Linked DNA regions of Homo sapiens: all the other regions are linked to region 7. The links are contacts of gene promoters, found by promoter capture Hi-C in blood cells and fetal thymus (Javierre and others, 2016). All regions are on one chromosome and are shown on one strand. Each heading gives the region's core, a stretch centred on a gene start or on the middle of the fragment in contact. The rest is flanking DNA. Distances are from core to core; before and after follow the strand shown.

What was found. Contacts are between HindIII fragments. The CHiCAGO score rates a contact against its expected background, and 5 or more counts as called.
Region 1: a fragment that was not itself captured here is called in contact with the fragment with the promoter of APCDD1 in region 7 in 1 of 17 cell types (monocytes); the score reaches 5.7 in monocytes.
Region 2: a fragment that was not itself captured here is called in contact with the fragment with the promoter of APCDD1 in region 7 in 1 of 17 cell types (M2 macrophages); the score reaches 6.0 in M2 macrophages.
Region 3: a fragment that was not itself captured here is called in contact with the fragment with the promoter of APCDD1 in region 7 in 9 of 17 cell types (M2 macrophages, naive B cells, monocytes and 6 more); the score reaches 10.8 in M2 macrophages.
Region 4: a contact is called between a fragment that was not itself captured here and the fragment with the promoter of APCDD1 in region 7, in 3 of 17 cell types (M2 macrophages, M0 macrophages and monocytes). The highest score is 7.3, in M2 macrophages.
Region 5: a fragment that was not itself captured here is called in contact with the fragment with the promoter of APCDD1 in region 7 in 4 of 17 cell types (M2 macrophages, monocytes, M0 macrophages and 1 more); the score reaches 5.8 in M2 macrophages.
Region 6: a fragment that was not itself captured here is called in contact with the fragment with the promoter of APCDD1 in region 7 in 2 of 17 cell types (M1 macrophages and monocytes); the score reaches 6.2 in M1 macrophages.

Annotation. Positions count from the first base shown.
Region 1 is chr18:9,952,782-9,955,725 of GRCh38, forward strand. It overlaps VAPA (VAMP associated protein A), which reads left to right. Exons shown (of 6, transcript NM_194434.3): 6 at 1,272-2,944. The coding sequence ends at 1,430. Among named protein-coding and RNA genes, the nearest start is that of VAPA, 40 kb to the left of the region's middle. The HindIII fragment of the contact is 9,151 bases long and covers 1-2,944 here.
Region 2 is chr18:10,082,422-10,085,121 of GRCh38, forward strand. No RefSeq gene overlaps it. Among named protein-coding and RNA genes, the nearest start is that of VAPA, 170 kb to the left of the region's middle. The HindIII fragment of the contact is 3,764 bases long and covers 1-2,700 here.
Region 3 is chr18:9,990,158-9,992,877 of GRCh38, forward strand. No RefSeq gene overlaps it. Among named protein-coding and RNA genes, the nearest start is that of VAPA, 78 kb to the left of the region's middle. The HindIII fragment of the contact is 3,525 bases long and covers 1-2,720 here.
Region 4 is chr18:10,114,679-10,117,540 of GRCh38, forward strand. No RefSeq gene overlaps it. Among named protein-coding and RNA genes, the nearest start is that of VAPA, 200 kb to the left of the region's middle. The HindIII fragment of the contact is 2,110 bases long and covers 488-2,597 here.
Region 5 is chr18:10,138,605-10,141,304 of GRCh38, forward strand. No RefSeq gene overlaps it. Among named protein-coding and RNA genes, the nearest start is that of VAPA, 230 kb to the left of the region's middle. RefSeq lists an enhancer at 1,880-2,379. The HindIII fragment of the contact is 2,267 bases long and covers 197-2,463 here.
Region 6 is chr18:10,160,225-10,163,081 of GRCh38, forward strand. LOC124904247 (a long non-coding RNA gene) reads left to right here. Exons shown (of 2, transcript XR_007066286.1): 2 at 1,164-2,843. Among named protein-coding and RNA genes, the nearest start is that of VAPA, 250 kb to the left of the region's middle. The HindIII fragment of the contact is 924 bases long and covers 983-1,906 here.
Region 7 is chr18:10,453,263-10,455,962 of GRCh38, forward strand. It overlaps APCDD1 (APC down-regulated 1), which reads left to right and starts at 1,373. Exons shown (of 5, transcript NM_153000.5): 1 at 1,373-1,777. The coding sequence starts at 1,720. The HindIII fragment of the contact is 7,093 bases long and covers 1-2,700 here.

The DNA of each region.
Region 1 (2,944 bases), core at 172-2,671, 500 kb before region 7:
ACCTAATGAGTCACAATCACAGGAGTATTAAAAGTTCTGTAGATGTTTGTGATGTGTAGCTGAAACTGAGAATTACTGTTTATATAGGACTAATTAGCATGAGACCAAAAAAACCCAACTCCAGAAAATCCAGTAATGCAAATAAAACTGTGCCATTAGGTGTACTCTTTTAGTTAGTGTTTATTTATAAGCACAATAAAGGAATCATGGGAGAAAATATTGCCTTGTACTGAAAAAAGTAAAAAACTGTCCTGCCATTTATCAGATTGGTTAACAGACAGAGATAAAGACAACTGTGTAGTTAACAGGTATTAGTATTTTTCCCAAGGTTCACATTGCACACAGTGTCATAACAACCTCCTGCTTGGAGTGACTTCTGCTTTCTTCTGAGAAACCTTCTGCTCTAAAGACATAGTGCTGTGTGAAGCCATATCAGCAAGAATGAAGCAGCCTACTCTTGACTGGAGGATCTAAGTCATTTTGACACAGAGAAGCACCCTCATTTTCCAGTCCAGGTGCAGAGCTTCAGATAAGGGTTTCCTATGTACATTTCTCATCTAAATTTGTAGTTTCTGAAGAAACAGTATTCTTTCTCTGCTTTGCAGTCGAGACCTGGTGCTACCACTTTACACACAGCCCTCTGCTTTGCTTTGAGCATATAAAAACACTGTTACTTAAATTTCACGCTAAACTGTTTCCTTCCCCCAAATTCTGTGATACCATATCTCTGTTTACGGCAAGAACACCCTTTTGTGCCTCTGCTGTTCCGGTTCCTTAGTTGCAGTGTGTCAGTAAACCCAAATGGCAGACTACAGGTCTGGGTAGTTTTTGGCTGATTGGGCTAGGACGGATGTAACTGATTTTAAATACCATGGGCCACCTTGGAAGTACTCTTCTTTAATTATATTTTTAGTGGGATTTAAAAAAAGGTAAATATAGCCTATCTAACTTTTGCTTTTTAGGAATACATTTCTCAGCTCCAGTTTTAAAAAATCAGTGTTATTGAGGTATAATTTATATCCCATGGAGACACCCACTGTGAGTGTACAATTCATTGATACATAGAACTTTGTAACCATCACTATAGTTCAGTTTTAGAATGTCTATCACCCCCGGAAAGTTTCCTTATGTGGTTAGCAGTTAATCCCCTTTTCCGTCCCCAGCCATAGGCAACCACTAATCTACTTTCCGTCCCTATAGATTTTTAGCTCCAGTAGTCTCGTTAGTATGCTTGTTTTTAAAAACCTTTTGTGTGTGTGTTTTTTTTCTAGGATGAAGGTTTAAGGCTCAGAAAGGTAGCACATTCGGATAAACCTGGATCAACCTCAACTGCATCCTTCAGAGATAATGTCACCAGTCCTCTTCCTTCACTTCTTGTTGTAATTGCAGCCATTTTCATTGGATTCTTTCTAGGGAAATTCATCTTGTAGAGTGAAGCATGCAGAGTGCTGTTTCTTTTTTTTTTTTTCTCTTGACCAGAAAAAGATTTGTTTACCTACCATTTCATTGGTAGTATGGCCCACGGTGACCATTTTTTTGTGTGTACAGCGTCATATAGGCTTTGCCTTTAATGATCTCTTACGGTTAGAAAACACAATAAAAACAAACTGTTCGGCTACTGGACAGGTTGTATATTACCAGATCATCACTAGCAGATGTCAGTTGCACATTGAGTCCTTTATGAAATTCATAAATAAAGAATTGTTCTTTCTTTGTGGTTTTAATAAGAGTTCAAGAATTGTTCAGAGTCTTGTAAATGTTATTTTAATAATCCCTTTAAATTTTATCTGTTGCTGTTACCTCTTGAAATATGATTTATTTAGATTGCTAATCCCACTCATTCAGGAAATGCCAAGAGGTATTCCTTGGGGAAATGGTGCCTCTTACAGTGTAAATTTTTCCTCCTTTACCTTTGCTAATATCATGGCAGAATTTTTCTTATCCCTTGTGAGGCAGTTGTTGACTGAGTTTTTCATCCTTACAATCCTGTCCCATGGTATTTAACATAAAAAAAAATAAAACTGTTAACAGATTCTTGCTCGATAGCTTGTTTGTGTCTGTCGTGTTATTAGAGGGAACTCCACTATATATGGTCACTTGAAATTATGATGCAAAGGTTTCTCTTGCATTGAAACCCTCTTGGATATTACAGTATTTTTAATTGAAAGTCCTAATTCTGTTAAGGAAAGGAGTTGATTAAATTTTAAGGTACCACTGGTATTTTGGGAGATTATAATCAGTTTGTTTTCAAGATAATAGAAAATAAGGTCCATGAGAATAGAAGTTATGTGATTTCAGTGAGTTGATGTGTACAGCATGGCTGTGCTCCATCTGATTTACCCCATTCTTAAGTTCTGAGAGTATGTTCTCAAGGAAGATTTAACTCTCTTTGGTTTTAAATTACTTTTTAACCAGCCTAATAAATAAGTCTTACTACTTTTCATAATATTTCATAATAGTTAAAAGTAGGTGTTTTTTTCGTGCTCAATTTGGCACTCAAAATAATGTTCATTATGGAAGTTTGGTAATACTGAGCAAGCCTGTGGAATTTTCTTTATGAAAAATGATTTTAGCCTTTGCAAATGTTAACCATGTGAAACACATTTTCAGTATAAGTATGCGTTACAGGGTTTGATACTTTCCTGCACTTAGGTTTGTCCTATTCTTCATTTATTCATACTAGGATAGAAAATTTTGGAATCAGAAAATAGATCCAGTGTTTAGCTACATACAATCTAGTACAAGTGAATTTTTATTCTTAAACATAGGTGTGTTGGCTCTTTTTTTAAAAGATGCGCTCTACCTGAAAAGGAAATTGGATTTTAGAACTGGATGTGGTGCAGTGAAGTATTTTAGGCCCAGGTCTGTGTACACATTTTATAGAAGAATGAAGTACTCTGAAGTATTTTGGTTGCCTTTTCATTTCAACTGTGTTTTGAATTTG
Region 2 (2,700 bases), core at 43-2,542, 370 kb before region 7:
TTCAGACAGGTCTAGTAAAAATCATTCTTATTTTTAAATGTCCTCTGTCTGTGGCGGGAGCCTTGTCTTTCAGAGTAGGCACAGTGATGTCTAGCTGTCACCATGGTCACAGTTTCATCCAGGCATGGGCTGGCTGGGAAGGAGACAGAAGCATGCATGCACCACCACCGAATAGTAGAAGACAAAGTGATTGCTTTCTTGAGCTGTTTTGAGAGTGGTTTGATTTTCAACTCACTGATGAGCTGGTTTGCAAAATGCTGAGAGCAGGGGAGACAGACAGAGAGCAGAGAGAGCACAGGTTAGGGTGATGGCTCCAAAGGCTGTGGGAGAGTGGGATTGTTACTGAAACACCAGGGGTTTGGTCTAGGTCCTGTTGCTTGCCACACAGAAAGCCAATCACTGAGACAAGTATTGCCGGGGAAGGCAGCTTTATTCAGATGGTACAGTCAAGGAGATGGGAGATCAGTCTCAAATCCATCTCCTAAACTGACTAAAATTAAGAGTTTACATAGCGGGGAAGAAACGTAACTACTTATGGGAAAACAGGAATTAGGGAGGGGTAAGGAAGAGGAGTTAGTCAACAGGCAGCAGGTGGTGGGTTATGCAATCATGATGGGTGAGGGGTCTGGTGTCTCATTGTCCTGATGCTGTGATCTGGAAAGTTTCAGTTCCTTGAAACTATCTGTGAGCGCTGATGGTTGCTTTCCTGAGAAAGGAACTCAGATAAGACAAATGTAACTTTCTAGTTTTAAAACTAGAAGGACCAATTTCTATGCTTATTCAAAAGAAACCATAAACATCAGTTCTATGGAACAACTGGGCTGGTTTCAGGATTAGGGGATGGGGCCCTGTGGGTGCTCCCTGGAGGGGTGAGGTCATCAGGTGAGGGAGGCTGCTGGCACAGACCTATGCTGTGTGTGTACTCCAGCACCCACCCTCTCAGGACATCCTGAGCCCAGGCATGGCTACAGCTGCTCCTCCCAACGGGGGTGGGACCCTCTCCTAACTCTGGCTGGGGGTCAGGCAGGTGGACTGATGCCCTCGGAATGGGACATGGCTGCAGAGGAAGCACATTTTCCCTTTCAGTTCAGAGCTATCCGAATGGAGAGTTCTTCAGGGATGTCACAGTCCTGGTAAACTCTGAGGCAGGACTCTAAAGACCCCAATATTTTGCTTAGTATCCTCAGTGTAGCTGAGCCCTGATTGGTTAATACAACTGAGCCCTGATTGGTTGATACAGCTGAGCCCTGATTGGCCAAGGCAGCTGAGCTCTTGGCCAATGATTGGTTGGTTCAGGTGAGCTCTGGTGTCCCAAAGTTGAACAGAGGTGTTGGTTTTGGGGACCTCCAGAGTATGTGTGTGACTCCTCATCAGCAAATAGCTGCATGTCTCTATTTTATATTTAGGCCCAGTCAGCCACTTTGGATCCACCTTCAAGGACTGGCTCTTTCAGGTTCACATTTGTTAGCACCATTTTAAAAATTGGTTCACAAGCTCAGTGTAAGGGGTCAACCCATGGCAGCCACTAACCTTTTTACTGTATCCATAGATTTGCCTTTTTCAGAATGTCATATCATTGGAATCATATAGCATGTAACCTTTTCAGATTGGCTTATTTCACTTACCAATATGCATTTAAGTTTCCTCCACATCTTTTCATGGCTTGATAGGGCATTTCTTTCTAGTGCTGAATAATATTCCATTATCTGGCTGTACTACAGTTTATTTATCCATTCACCTACTGAAGGACATCTTGTTTGCTTCCAAGTTGTGGCAATAATGAATAAAGCTGCTCTAAACATCTGCGTACAAGTTTCTGTGTGAACATATGTTTTCAACTGTTTTGGGTAAATACCAAGGTGCACATTGCTGGATCGTATGGTAAGACTGTTTAGTTTCATAAGAAAGCACCAAGCTGTCTTCCAAAGTGGCTATACCCTTTTGCATTCCCACCAGCAATGGAAGACAGTTCTTGTTGCTCCACATCCTTGTCAGCATTTGGTGTTGTCGTGTTCTAGACGTTGACCATTCTAATAGGTGTGCAGTGGGATCTCACTGCTGTGTTAATTTGCATTTCCTGATGACATGTGATGTGGAGGATGTGCTTATTTGCCATCTGCATCTCTTCTTTCATGAGGTGTCTCTTCTTGAATGTTTTTAACTCCGGAAAGAAAATTAGTACACCATGAAATTCTTTTCTTTTTCTCCAAAACAAAAAACGACCAAAGTAAAAAAAAAAAAAAAAAAACAAGCAGACCAAAACATGACACTCCTTTAGCCCAGCTCATTATACTCACTCCTAAATACAGAACAGAATATCTGGGAAGGGCTGGGTAGGAGAGGTACCTGGGGGCCTGTGAACGTTGTTTTGCCCCTTTCCTGTGAAACTAAATCTCTCCCAGAGCCCATAGGGAATGAGGAGAGGGGAAGAAAGTTCTGATTTTGGCTTTTTGCATGGGAGCTGGACAAAATCCTGCCAAGGGCCACTTCATCTAAGGATGCTTCTTAAAGGAGAATTTGGTTCTAGGACTAGTGGCCACTAGGAACAGGTTGATAAGGCACAGGAATAGAATGGTCAGATATGGATTATCTCACAGTCATTGAGGACTTACTACATGCTCAGCATGTTGGTAAATGCTTCTCATTGGATTCTCACTGCAACCCCCACATAGTAGGCACTGTTATTTCTCTCTTTCTTGC
Region 3 (2,720 bases), core at 115-2,614, 460 kb before region 7:
AATAAGTCAACTGTGTCTGGCCCCCTAAGTTCCTGCAGCTGCTCCTCCCTGTCTGGGGTGGTTGTGTTTCCTTTTATATTGTCCATTTCAGGACTCCTTTCAGTCAGCTGTTTAATTTCACCTCAGGTGGTCTCTTTTTCTTCAAAATGGAATTGGTTCTAGGGTAATGCGTGGAGGAGTCCTTGCCACCGTGGAGGGGCTGCCCTGCAGGGGCACTCGGCCTATCTGAACAGAAGTTTATTCATTCTTCCTCGGAGGCGGCACGCGGGCCTTCCTGAAGTGCTCATTCATCTCCAGGGAAGGTGGGTGAGAAGGGCACGGTCAGACCAGCCTCATTTTATGTCTTCTCAGTTTGTAGGCTGTGCATCCCTCAAACATCCTGAGATCCTAGGAAGTCATGTAGCCAATCAGCCTGTTGTCACTCAGTTTCTTCAAATACGGAATACCATCAGGCTCATGGGTTGGGAGAAATATATGTCCAAAGCCCCAATAAGCACTTTAAAAAAGCAAGAGCTCCTGAGTGCCTTCCTGCAGGATGGACCCTGGAGGTGCTGAAGGGTAAGCTGAGGCTGATGGCTGGGGAGTGTTTGGGGTGGTGTTGGTGGGGGTCAGCCTGGGGGCGCTGCCTTCCCCACCAGCCATTGTCTGTCCAGGGCTGCCCTGAACAGGCATGCTTCCTGGTAGGAGCTCCACAAATACACAGAACTGCAGAACAAATGATTCAAATAATGAAATCTATCAAGTTTGTACGTGAGTTTAACCAGCGCCCAGACCGGGGCGGCCTCCCAGTTGCACTCCCTGAGTGCCCGTCTGCCCCCTGGATAGTGTCTTACCTTCCTCACCGCCTAGTCCCTGGCTTCCCAGAGGATGGGAGGACAGCTCCTTCACTGGAAGGTATGCCTTCCTTTAAGTGATGTAGATATTTCTAGACTCTTCTCAGATCTTTGGTTCTCCCTGCTCCCTTCTCACACACACAGGGAAAGCAGAACCTACTGGGGGGAACTCGGAACTTTCAGGGCCAGCATTCACGTGTCTAGCCTGCCTTCCTTCCTCCCCAGCCTCTTCCTCATCCCAGGTTCCTGGCGATCCCGGCCGCTCCCCTCTCGCCTCCACAGAGACTGCTCTGAGTCTACTTCTTCTCCGCCTATGTCTCTCCGCCCTTTCTATGCGCTCCTTCCCATCCGCATTCAAACGTTCTCAGGTGTCTTTCATAGGTTCAAAAAGAGAATTCCCCTGACCTGTGTTTCCACATCGCCTCTCCTCTTTATGGCCACCACGTGGCGTTTTGTCCCCTCCTCCTCTCCTCTCCCTTATTCACAGATTCTGTTACCCCCAACACAGCTCTCAGCAAGGCCACTGAGGACCTCCTTGTGGCTCTGGGACCAATGACTCCTAGCGGCACGTGACGCTGCTGACCTTGTTCTGGAAACATTTTCTCAGCCTTGATGCTGCTGTGGATCCTTTTCTGGTTTCTCCTCCCACTGGAGGTGCCTCTGCATCACCTTTGCCAGGCTTCTTCGGCTCTGCCGGAGCTTCTTTGGTCCCGGCTTCTCTTCCCTTCTCAGCCTCTCTGCCCCGTGATCGGTGGGATCTCTTCCCAGGGCTTGGAACCCCGCTATGTCCTCTGACAACTCAGGTCTAAGTGTCCTACCGGTTGTCTCCCTGAGCGCCGCACACCTGCGGCTCCCCCTGGATGTGCGTGGATGCCTCAGACTCAGCAGGTCCACAGTGGGGCTCCAGCTTCTCACACCTATGCTCCTTTCTGTTTCTGTCTGAGGTGAACGGGACCATTCTCTACCCAGTGGCCCTATCCAGAACTTGGAGGGTCTCCCTTGACTTTCCCAGATTTCTTACCCCGCATTTTGACACCATCCAATGAATCATGAAGTCCTGTGAATTCTCCCAAATGCATCCTGTCTGTCCCCGTATCCCTTCCCCACTGAGATCCCCACATCCAGGCCACTGCCAGTTCTCATCCAGTCGCCACACCTGCTCCTAGGTCTTTCTGTCTTGAAATTACTATTTTTTTTCAATCCATTATCCAGACTAAAGCTGGAGCGATCTTTTCAAAATGCACATATAAGTCACCTCCTGATCAAGATTTCCAATAGATTCTATGTATTTGGGATGAAGTCTGAACTTCTTAACTTAGGTGAATCTTCATGTCCTGGACCCTACCTCCTTCTACTCCCATCTCCTGTCCTGCTCATCTGTGGCAGGTTTTTACCTTCCTCAAAAAATAAAATGTGGGGCCATCTAAGTCTCCTCTGTGTGACTTGGCTAGCCACACACACAACGACCGCCCTAGTCGCTGGGGTTTTTGAGCTGAGTTTTTGGCAGCTCCCAGTGGTAGTCTGGGAATGTCACCATCCTCTTGGAAAGTCCGTGGTGAGTTCTTTACAGCTGGCAGGACCTCTGAGGTGTCACCCTGAGGCTTAGCAGTCTTCTCATCATCTTCACTCCCTAACTAAGAAAGAGGGAGTGGAAGAGGGTGGTGAATCCTTCAATATTTAAAAGCACCAAACACAACAAAATTTATGTGGACCTCGTCATTATTACTATTCTGACTTAATGAACTTTATCCTCTCCTTTTTTGGCTGGAAAAACATAAAAGTCCCAATGAAAGGAAACGGATGTAGTTGCTTTGAGCATTTCCAAAGGAAACTGCAGTAAAATGTGAACCATCGCCCTGTGAAAGCCTGTTGTGTAATGGAGATGTC
Region 4 (2,862 bases), core at 293-2,792, 340 kb before region 7:
GTTGTGGCCACATAAGATGGTGCCTAAATGCTCTACATACATAATTAATAATGGTATGAAAAGCAAGGGCACCACGGAGCGCTAACCTTCATGGAGGGTTTGTTTGCCCATGAATGCAGCTCAGCAGGGAGGGTGCACTCAGCTCTGTGAAGAGAGGAGTCAGATTTAAAGCTCCCTCTGTTTTGGAACCTTGGGCATGCAGAGGAGCATCTGGTAGAGAAGACATCCAGCATTCCTGTTCCTCTGCTTTGTGATTCTTTCTCTCACTCCTATTGCAGCCTGATTACAGGTTAGGCTTCCGCAGACTGCTCTGGCCAGCCAGGGGCTGGAAGATGGGGAGTGGCAGGAGGGGTAGTGGATCACGTTTATTACAGGCCCAGGGGTATTGGGATATTTCTTTCCTTCGGTTAATCTTCTGCAGCTTTGTTAGCAGCTTAGGGAACTGTAGGATGCTTTTCATCACCACATTGGCTTCCCACAACTGGCAAGCTTTCTAGGTGGGGAACTGTCAGAAACGTGGAATTCACCAGCATGATTTCCTGAAGGAGTATGAATGGTAGCTGTAAATATTGATTGATTGTTAGTTTACAGTGTCAAAATGAGTTGTCACATGCTTCCACAACCCCACCATGGTGCCTTCCATCAAACAGATAGTTTATGTTTTTAATCATCAGAACTAATCTGTTAATATAAACAGAAGACAGCAGATTTTTTCAATAAAAATAGAATAAAAGGGATAACTGATTGTTTTAGAAATAATGGTTTTAATGAATCTAACTAGAAATAAGTAGGTATACATATTTAAAAAAGAACCGACATAGTTTACATACATTAGGAAGAGTTGTATGATAGTACACACAAAAAAGCAGAAAGAGCTGGGGCCAGCTCCATACATACAAAGGAGCCTAAGCAAATTATAGACAACCCCTCAAATTATAAACATGGGGTTATTAACACTCTACACATTTCTAGAACTTAGACCATGAGATCAATGTTCTGGGTGGGTCAGAATTGTGTTCAATTTTTTGGTGCCTCAATTTTAGGGAGACATGAAATCAAGAGCACCAAGAAAAGACAAGATGATGAGGGGGTCTTAAAACCATCTCAATTAAGGAATAGCTAACGGGTTTTATCTGGAGAAGACCGGGGGAATATGAGATGTTGGCCTTCAAAGAGTTAAAATACTCTTGCAGAAAAGGGAGTAGATTGCTTTCCCGGGAGAATGGCTAATATTTCAGGAGAAGAAAATTCCTTTCAATGTAAGAAATATCTGTCTCAGACTACAGCTTTCCAACTTTGGAGTGGAAGTTGCTGTTAGGTAGTGAGCTCCTGTGCACTGGACACTTTATGAATGTAGGGGTGCTGGGGAAGAATTATTCACATATTAAAAGGGAGTTCAGATAAAATTATATGAAAGCCCCTTTCTTTGAAGCCAGGTGTGGGCTGGCTGCCCGGGCCTTCCCTTCTACCTTCTACCTTTTGCTAGAAGATTCCCAGCAAACCTGCTCCTCTTGTTCATAGTATTATCATGAAGATTAGAAGAGTGTTAAAGACTAAATTTTAAAAGACAGTAAAATCATGACTCTCACACAATCATAAAATGAACATGTGCCAAGGATTTTATTTAACTCGATTAATGAGGAAGTCACTCGATATTACAACTGGCTCAAAAGAGAACTCAAGATCCACACATCTATAGTCAGATAAAGAAGGACTGCTCAACATGGTGAAACCTTGTCTCTGCTAAAAATACAAAAATTAGCCAGGCATGGTGGTGGGCACCTGTAATCCCAGCTTCTCGGGAAGCTGAGGCAGGAGAATTGCTTGAACCCAGGAGGCGGAGGTTGCAGTGAGTGGAGATGGCGCCACTGCACTCCAGCCTGGGTGACAGAGCGAGATTCCATCCCAGAAAAAGAAAAAAAAAAAAAAAAAAAGGAGGACGAAATGAACTTACACATCTTACATATGCAATGGAGGCAAAATTGGTCAGTTTCTACAGTGTGATAGTCAGTTGCATTCCACTGGACACAATTTGCATTTCTACAGACAGGAGTAAGTTGCATCACTCCCAGTTTGCTACAAGTTAACTTTCACCTCTACAGAGTTGTAAAACACTCTAGTCAAAGTGGAGGAGCATACCCCTGAGGCATCTCTAGGATTCCATTGAAAAGACCGCCAGTGATCTTTTTTGTCCAGTTCGAAACTGTCCACATTTTTCCCTACATGAAGTAACCTCTCACATAGAGGTTTTCCCCAAAGTTCCTGACAAATGATGTGTGCTCAGTAAACATGATTTATTGTTGATCATCGTTGTGATTCTTACCCAAGTGTCCTGGGGAAGATGCCGGTGGCTGATATGAGGTATTCTTTGACCAAGGTCAGGATCACCATTTTTTCTCTTTCCTTTGGAAATATTATACACACATCAGGCTACCTGCTTTTTCCTATCTTTCATCTCCCACAGACAAATGCATTTAATGTTAAAAAAATCTTTGTTTCTAACGTGCATATAAAATCCTCCTTTTTCTTGTTCTCTTCCAATTCTCTTTCAGTTTCTTATTGTAGGAAAATGTCTCTATGCTTCAAATTTCTAGTTAAGCTTAAGAAAAATTCTAGTGATCTTCCTTTCTTAAGGAAAGAACAATTGTAAGTTTTAACTAAATTTATAAATGATGAAGTTTAGATTCGGTCATTTCAGCAAACAAAAGCTAAATAACCATTGTTTTGAGTTACTGAATACTCAAACATTGACACAGGAATAATACAAGTTGAAAAAATATATTTTAACTTACATTAGATATATAAATGCAAGTTAAATATTCACACAGGTATGCCTTGCCATTCTTATATGAGCCCTGTTGT
Region 5 (2,700 bases), core at 80-2,579, 310 kb before region 7:
GCTTTCTCTCCTTGTAGAATCAATGAGTTTAAGAATCGGTGGGATTTTGTAGGAATTTGTCTTGTAAGGTTACAGTGTATTAAAAACTCTTGGAAACTGAAGTCCCGTCCCTTAGAAATAGTAGTCATATGGTAGAAAAATCTGGAAAATAGTAATGACTCAATAAATGTGTTTTTCTTTTCTCCTTTCTTGTCCAAGCTTCATAACTAATGCCTATCTCTTCTGACTAAAGAGAACTGCTTCTCTTCTTTTCTGTTCAGATATAAACAAGTGCTATTTTATACATCCAACATTCACTTTATGCGCCCATATATTTACCATTCACGATCTCTGGCATTTCATCTAAGAAAGCCTGTTAGGATTTCACTTAGTATGAGTCAGCTTGCAACTTGCATATGTTAGCTTCCATTGATACAGAAATGTCTTTCTTTAACTTTCTATGTATTTATTTTTTGAGACAGAGTCTCGCTATGGTTGCCCAGGTGGGAGTGAGGTGGTGTCATCTCAGCTCATTGCAACCTCCACCTCCCAGGTTCAAGTGATTCTCCTGCCTCGGGAGGCTGCCTCAGCCTCCCAAGTAGCTGGGATGACAGTTGCAAGCCACCAGGCCTGGCTAATTTTTGTATTTTTAGTAGAGACAGCGTTTTACCATGTTGCCCAGGCTGGTCTTGAACTCCTGACCTTAGGTGATCCACCTACCTTGGCCTCCCAAAGTGTTGGAATTACAGGTGTGAACCACCGCACCCGGCCTCTTTCTTTAACTTTCATTCTTGAAGCATGTTTTCCCCATGCACAGTGTGTTACTAGGTTGGCAGCTGATTTTCTTCTGTCCTTTGTAGATACATACCATTGCATTGTTTGCTGCCTTCTGTTTTTTTTTTTTTTTTTTTTTTTGGTTTTTGGGGTTTTTTTGTGTGGAACATTAGCTGTCAATCTATTGCTCACTTGAAGGTACTTGAATTTTTTTTCTCTGGCTGCTTTTAAGATTTTCTTTTTGTCTTTTTTTTTTTTTTTGCAGTTTTATGATGATATGTCTAGGTGTGCATTTCTTTATATTTATCTTTCCTGGGGCTTATAGAACTTCTTGATACTGTAGATAAATAATTAAACAATTAATCATTCTTTTGCTTAACAGATATTTACTGAGCGCATACCCCAGATCTTGGAGTCTAGTGGTGGGAGAAGACAGGAAATAGTTGATCTCAGCATGAACGATCAATGTGGCCCTGGTGGCAAGTGCATGTGCTTTGGGAGCACATCCTGTTGGGGTTGCTGTTGAAACCAAGTCCTGAAGGACAAGTAGAGGATCAGCAGGCAAAGCGTGTGAGAAGGCTGGAGAGAGTGTTTCCATATGTGGGTCTCCATCTGTAAAGCTCCAGGAGATGAGGGCATGAAGGGCATGTGGAACTGCAAGGAGGCCAGTGTGTCTGAAACATGGTGCAGGACAGCGGGATCTGTGGAGGACAGGGCCAGAGATAAAGCCCGTTTTTCCAGGGCCCATCTCCAGCCGCTGCATTTCTTTCGAGCTTTAGACAGACTATCTGCTTCCCATATGACATTTTTTCCAGGATGATTCAAGCCACTTCAAACTCAACTTGTCTGGAGCTGACTCATCCTTCTCAAATCTCAGCCTCCTCCAGAATCCCCGCCCCTGACTCAGTTGCACTCCTAGAAAACTGGACAGTGTTCCCTGCAGGCCTGGCAGCCCTGCAAGGAGGGAATGACTTGAGAAGAGTTTTTGCTTCAGAAAGCTCACCCTTGACTGCAGTGTGGAGCAAGGATTGGAGGGATGAACTGGAAGCAGGGGCCCCTGCGAGGGGAATGTTACTCTAGTGCAGGTGGAGAGGATACGGGCCCATCCACACTGGCAGCAGCAGAGTGGTGGGAGAGTGGAAAGGGGTGAGCAGCAGAAAGGAAGTCGACTTGGTGAGATTTGGTGACTGATGGGAGGGGAGGCAGACTGTGGGTTTGAAGCACTGGGCCAATGGCAGACTCATGTAGGAGTGAGAGGGGCCCTAGGACGGCAGTTGGTCAGGGTGGCTTTGGGCTTGTTGAACTGAAGTGGTGCCCAGGAGGAAGCTGAGCTGCAGCTCTTAGTTTCAGGCGAAAAATCAGCCCTGCAGACACAGGGCCGGGATTTGTTACCCAATCTGTTGTAAAGTGCTTCCTTCACAGTATGCCTTTGCTCTGAATAACTCTAACCCCACAGACTTACTCAAGTGTCACTTTACAAACTCTGACACAGTGAAAAAAAAGTCTCTCTTTTTTTCTCCTACCCCCATTTTCATGCAGGAAATAACAACAAAGACCCAGGTCAGAGATGAGTCTTTGTAGAGCTTCCCAAAGTGATTTGAGGCTGGGAGGCTATAGTCAGTGGAATATAGAATTTGTGCAAAAGCTGGAGAAGGCTGACAGTGGCGGTCAGGGAAATCTAAATTGGCCCCAGCTGACAACCTCATCCCAAGCTTGGTGGGGCCCCACCCCCTGCTGAGAGAGCCACCCATTCAGGCCCCTGGGCTTTGTAAATAGTTTCTGTTTAGTTTTCAGCTCACAAGAAGCAAGCACATAAAAGAGTTAGTCATCGGGCCGATTCAGCAGGGCACACATTAGCTAGATATTGACCTGGGCTCCTTTCACACCAGGTGAGTGATGTGTTGAATGTTGGAGCTGGGTAGAATCTAGCCTGAAAGTCTATATTAA
Region 6 (2,857 bases), core at 195-2,694, 290 kb before region 7:
GCCTTGGCCTCCCAAAGTGCTAGGATTACAGGCGTGAGCCACCGTGCTGGGCCCTGTTAAAATATTACTTATCTCTCTATGCGAGTGCTTTTTCAGCTTCGAGAGAAAAAGAAAACCCTTGTGGAATTTAGAACACACTTTGTTCTTGAAGTGTAGGGTTGTGTGACTCCACCCTTGCCTGGCACGGCCTTCGGTCCTCTTTGGAATGTGGTATCTCATTGCCACAAAGGGTCCCTTGTGTCTGTCTTATGATCTTGACTTTAACATTCATGCTGGTCAGTTGTTGTGTCTAAACCACTAGAGGGAAGGGTATAATGAGACGCGTCTGACCTCCCGTCCTGTCATGGCCGGGAACTTAGTTTTAAGGTTTTTCCAGGGTCCCCAGGCAAAGAGGGGTCCATTCAGGTGATGGGGGAGCTTAGGAATTTATTTTTAGTTTACATACCTAAACTTGAAAAAGGAAACTTTTAAGAGGAAATACAAATGAAAATTAAACTCCCCCCATACAAATGGTCTACCACAGACCATTACTCCTGGGTCAGAGAGCTGAAAACTCACTTTGAAAGGGTTTATAAACTGATAAAACAGAGGTGAAAAGTACAGTTATAAAATGATCACGGGGCTAGCCTGCTGCCGACCTGCTGGGGTCCTGTCTAGAACACCAAAAGCCTGCATGGCAGTGATCAGCTGACTGAGGAGTGAGTCCCTGAGAAATGCTTCTGGGGAGCCTTGGGCCTGTGCTCCCCTCTTTCTGCCAGCTGCTTTCCCATGTGAACTGATAGAGATTTTCAAATCACTTGGTTCTGTTCTCTTTTCTTCCCAGTGCCCAGAGTAGTGGGTAGCTCACCCCCCAGTGGGTCTACCCCAGCAACAACCCCAGTGGCCACCCATCGTTGCTAGTCTGGAGCTTGCGGTGACCCTCATCCTGGTGCGGTTCTGAGGTCCTTGGGGAGGGGGGAGTCCCCTGGGGGAAATGCCTAGAAGCTTCCTACAAAGGTCTGGAATGGTCGGTGCAGCAAGGGAGGAGAGGGCTACTGGAAAACTCACAGGGCCTTAATTCAATTTTGAATCCTATAAATCACACAACACTTGTGATTTTTAAACACTATATTTTGTTACACTTTTACTTATTAAATTATCTATTGATATATTTTTCCTCAAAGCCTCTGAGAAGACTTTGCACAAGCTGCTGAGGACACTAAGGCTGGAGACATGGGACATGGATGCCCTGTGATCAATTAAGTTGGTTAACGTCACCAGCGTAGATGATGTCAACGCTTCACCCTCTGGAGGCCCCAGAAAGCAGCTTTCCTTCACACGCCGCCGGACTGTCCACTGATGGAGGCGGATGGATGCTCTTGGCCGCATTTCTCGGCACTCAGGTTGTGACTGTCCCAGGCTTCCTGTTAAATGCATTCCTGGTCCGAATAGCTTCACCCACGTGCTCAGGGCAGCGGGTGGAGTGCCATCTCCACATTTTTCTGTAGGAAACCCTCCAAGGAGGTGCTGCCTCCTCCTTCGGGCAGTGAAAACTCCTCAGCAAACTGGGACATAGGTGCCAGATGTTCATCAGGACTACCCTGGAAAGAAGTCCAGGCCATCCAGATCAGGGAGGCTGGGTCTGAAGCTGGGTCTGCCAAGGCCTGGTTTCTGTCCAAGCCTCACTAGGGGAGGGACTTATGGTGCAAACTCCCCATTCCCTCTGGTGTGTGCGTTGCAGCCGTGATGCTGTTTGCCTCAACTTATGGGTCTTCTCTGGGCCCAGATTGAACCTTCCTATCTGTTTCCACTAGCTTTGTATGCCATATGGCATTTTACAGCCCCATACTATGTAGGTAACAGAAACAACAGCACTTGCAAACTACATATATTTCAAAAAACAACTAGGTCTTTTGATTAAATTATAAGCTTTAATTATATTCTAACTAATTAGAACATGTTTAACATAGACCTCTCCCATACCTGAAAAACTGAATGAAAAGAAACTTACAAATGAACCCTCTGTAGGATTACCATTAGGTTAAAAAGATAACTAAAAAATATACTATTTTAGGCCAAGTGTGATGGCTCACACCTGTAATCCCAGTGCTTTGGAAGGCTGAGGCAGGAAGACTGCTTGAGGCCAGGAATTTGAGACCGGCCTGGACAAGACAGTGAGACTCTGTTTCTAAAAAATAAAAATAAAAAAATTAGTTGAGCATGGGGAAGGGTACCTGTTGTTCTAGATACTCTGGAGACTGAGTCCGGAGGATCACTTGAGCCCAGTAGTGCAAGGTTGCAGTAAGCTATCATGGTTAACACTGCACTCCAGCCTGAGTGAAAGAGTGAGACGCTGTCTCTAAAATAAACACTATTTTAAAATTGCAACATTCTCTTAGTCCCTTCATCGTTTCATGGTTTTCCCTCTAGCAATTATATCATCTTCTGACCTTCATATTCCCTATAGGCAAGTTTTTCTAAACTTTTCCTTTATATGCTGTGTAAGGCCTGTTCCTCTTTCCCTACAACAGTGACCTGGAGTAGGCAACTACTTTTATCCTTTTTAAAAGACTGATTCAAGCCATTCTTGTATTTCTGCATCAACTGCAACATTTTAACAACCTATTCAGGTTTCTCCTACTGCTGAACTCAATTTGCCAGTATTTTGAGTCTTCTGCATAGTTTCATAAATGAAATTGGACTGTAATTTTTTGCATTGTACTTCCCTGTAAAGTCACTGAGGGTCTGGTGTCTTTTGGGGGCAATATTTTTTTTTTTCTAGAACAGTTTTTGTAATAGTTATGTGTTCTCTTGGGTTTTCTGTATCTTCTTGAATAAACTTTACATTGATGTTTTAACTTAAATTTATGTATAACTT
Region 7 (2,700 bases), core at 123-2,622:
GTCAAATGTATTCTCATCTATTTTACTATTATACCGTTGCTAAGATCCAACTACTTTTGAAAGTCTAACACATAAGGAGTTGAATTATTGCATTGTTCAAAGGGGCAGAGAATTCTCTTGGGAAATCAGGCATTTATTTTAATCTTTTTTTTAAATGAAAAACACTAACGGTTGCGTCAAGAAATGTTCTCTAGACTCCACTGGGTCTCCTGTCTGCTCTTTATCCTAGTGTGGAGAAGAGGTGACATTAACCTTAGGAGGGGGAAAACTGCTGGAAGAGGGGAAGGGCTCAAGCAGGCCCTTGGCAGAGGAGGGACCTTCCAGGTAAATCAGATGGCCACTGCCTTGTACCCGCATTGGAGAACGAAGGACCCCAGGGGAAACTCTTCCTGCCTTTGGGTCTCAAACGCCCATGTAGTCCCCCCTCCCCCACAAGACCGCGAACACAAATAAAATCAGCTTTGATTGTGGTGATTCAATTTGCTCTGGAAGAGAAGAGGACTCGGCGAAGGGGCCTAAGTGCACGTTCTTAGACTGACAGGGAGCGTTTCTCGGAGATTTCTCCCGTTTCAACAAGTCATTTGCCTAGTGGAAGGGGGAGGAAAAAGTGAACGGGCTCCTGCCTCCTACACCGTGCCCTTCCCAGGTTGGGGCCTATGACAAGGTTCTCCGTGCTCCCCAGAGGAGCCAGGCACTGGGCCGGGGTAGGCGATTTGTAGTGAAGACCTGCACCGCACCCACGAGGGGGCCCAGCACTGACGCATCCTCACCCCCAGCAACCCTCCAGGACTCTCTCTTTGGTCTCCCCTCTCTCCCATGGCTGCGCGCTGGCACACACCCCGGCTCAGCAGGCCGCTTTGCTTGGATCCCACGCCAGGCCTCCAGCCTCGCCGCCCGCACCCCCTTTGAACACCTTTCCCCAGGGGAGTGGGCGGAGGCGGAAGGGTGACCCGCGCATTCTCTTTCCTTGCGGGCGGGGTGCGGGGCCAAAGGCTCCCACCCCCTCCAAGGAGGAAGCGCGCCCGGAATGGGGGACGGGGAGGAGAGAAAGGGGTGCGCAGAGCCAGAGGGAGGCAGAGGGGCCTGGAGGGAGGAGAGGAGGAGGGGAGGATGGAAGGGGTAGGAAGCTGGAAGAGGAGGGGTAGGCGAGAGAGGGGAAGGAGGGAAGCGGGAGGGGAGCGGGGGGAGGAGGGGCGCCCGGAGTGGGAGGAGGGGAGGCGTTGCCCGACGCGCCCTTTCAAGTCTCCGCGCTCCCCCCCGGCGGCGGCTGCCCGGGGGCGGTGGCTCGGCGTCGCCTCCCCCGACCGCCCCCTCCAGGGCCCCTCCTCCGTGCCGCGGCCAGGCTGCCCGGCCGGCGGCGCGCTGGAAATATGAAGAGACGCTGCAGCTGCGGTGGCGGTGGCGGCCACTGCAGCTCAGAGCGGCGCACGCGGCGGCCGGGGCGGGACGCGGGGCCGGGCGCGGAGAAGTCGGGGCGGGCGGCAGAGAGGCCGGGACGCGGACCGGGCCGGGGCGCCCACAGCCGCCCGACGGCGCCCAGAGAGCGCGCGCCCCGCAGCCCCGCGCCTAGCCCGCCGGGCATGGGGCGCGCGGCAGCCGCCTGAAGCCCCGGCCTGGCCCGGCCGCACCCGGCCGGAGGCGGAGGGCAGAGCGCGCGCCCAGTTGCCCGGGCACCAAATCGGAGCGCGGCGTGCGGGAGGCCCCAGAGCAGGACTGGAAATGTCCTGGCCGCGCCGCCTCCTGCTCAGATACCTGTTCCCGGCCCTCCTGCTTCACGGTGAGTTCCCGAGGGCCACTCGAGCGCTCCCAGCCGGCGGAGGCAGCCCGGGCGCCGCGGAGCCCGCGGAGGCGTCGGGTCTGGATCGCGGCACGGCCTACACTGTCCCCTTGGCGGGGCGGGTCCGAGGGGAGCCCCGCGCCTGCCGTCTCAGCCCTGGGAGAGGGGGCTCTGCCCACTTTCCGAGGCTTGGGACCGCTCTCCCCCAGGGCGCCCGGAGCTCTTTGCTGCGGGACTGTTCTTTTTGGAAGGGTGGAAGCTCTCCCACGCAGACACCTTTTATGTCCAGAATCCGTTGCATCCAGTCCGAGGGAAACTTTCGTCCGCTCTGCTGGATTTTCCAACTGTACACTGCCATGAAATCGCCGGCTCTGCGAGCCTTTTTCCAAAATGCCAGAATGCAGCAGGCTCTTGATGTGTTCCAAGCGTTTAGGAGAGTGGAAAGAGAAACTGATCATTTGGGAAAGACACGTCTGTCTGCCTTCTGAAAACTAGTGTTTGTTGTCTGCCTGCACTTTGCCTCGCGATTGAGGCGGGGTTGTGGGGTTTTCTCCCAAGTGGACTGTTGCGTTCTCTGGGTGTAATTTTAAGAAACAGGGGACCCCTATTAGCCAAGATTTAATCATTATTACCAGTCTCCCAATGTGCACCCCAACTTGACGTCCCATTTCCTGGGCTTCCAGTGCCACTTTTCCCCAGGGGTTCTAGTAAACCTTTAGCTAGAGAACATCAGCCCTTTCAGCGGGTTCCAGAAATTGCGCTGAAAACACCAAGACAGAATTTCTTTGGGGTGGACAAGGCAGGTTTTATGGCGCGTCGGGTTCATAATCCTGACAAGCCGTGGCAGATCACGTCGTGTTGATGTGGATGTCCTGAGCAAACTGTCCCTAATGGTCAGACACCTGACGTTTCAACAGCATGAC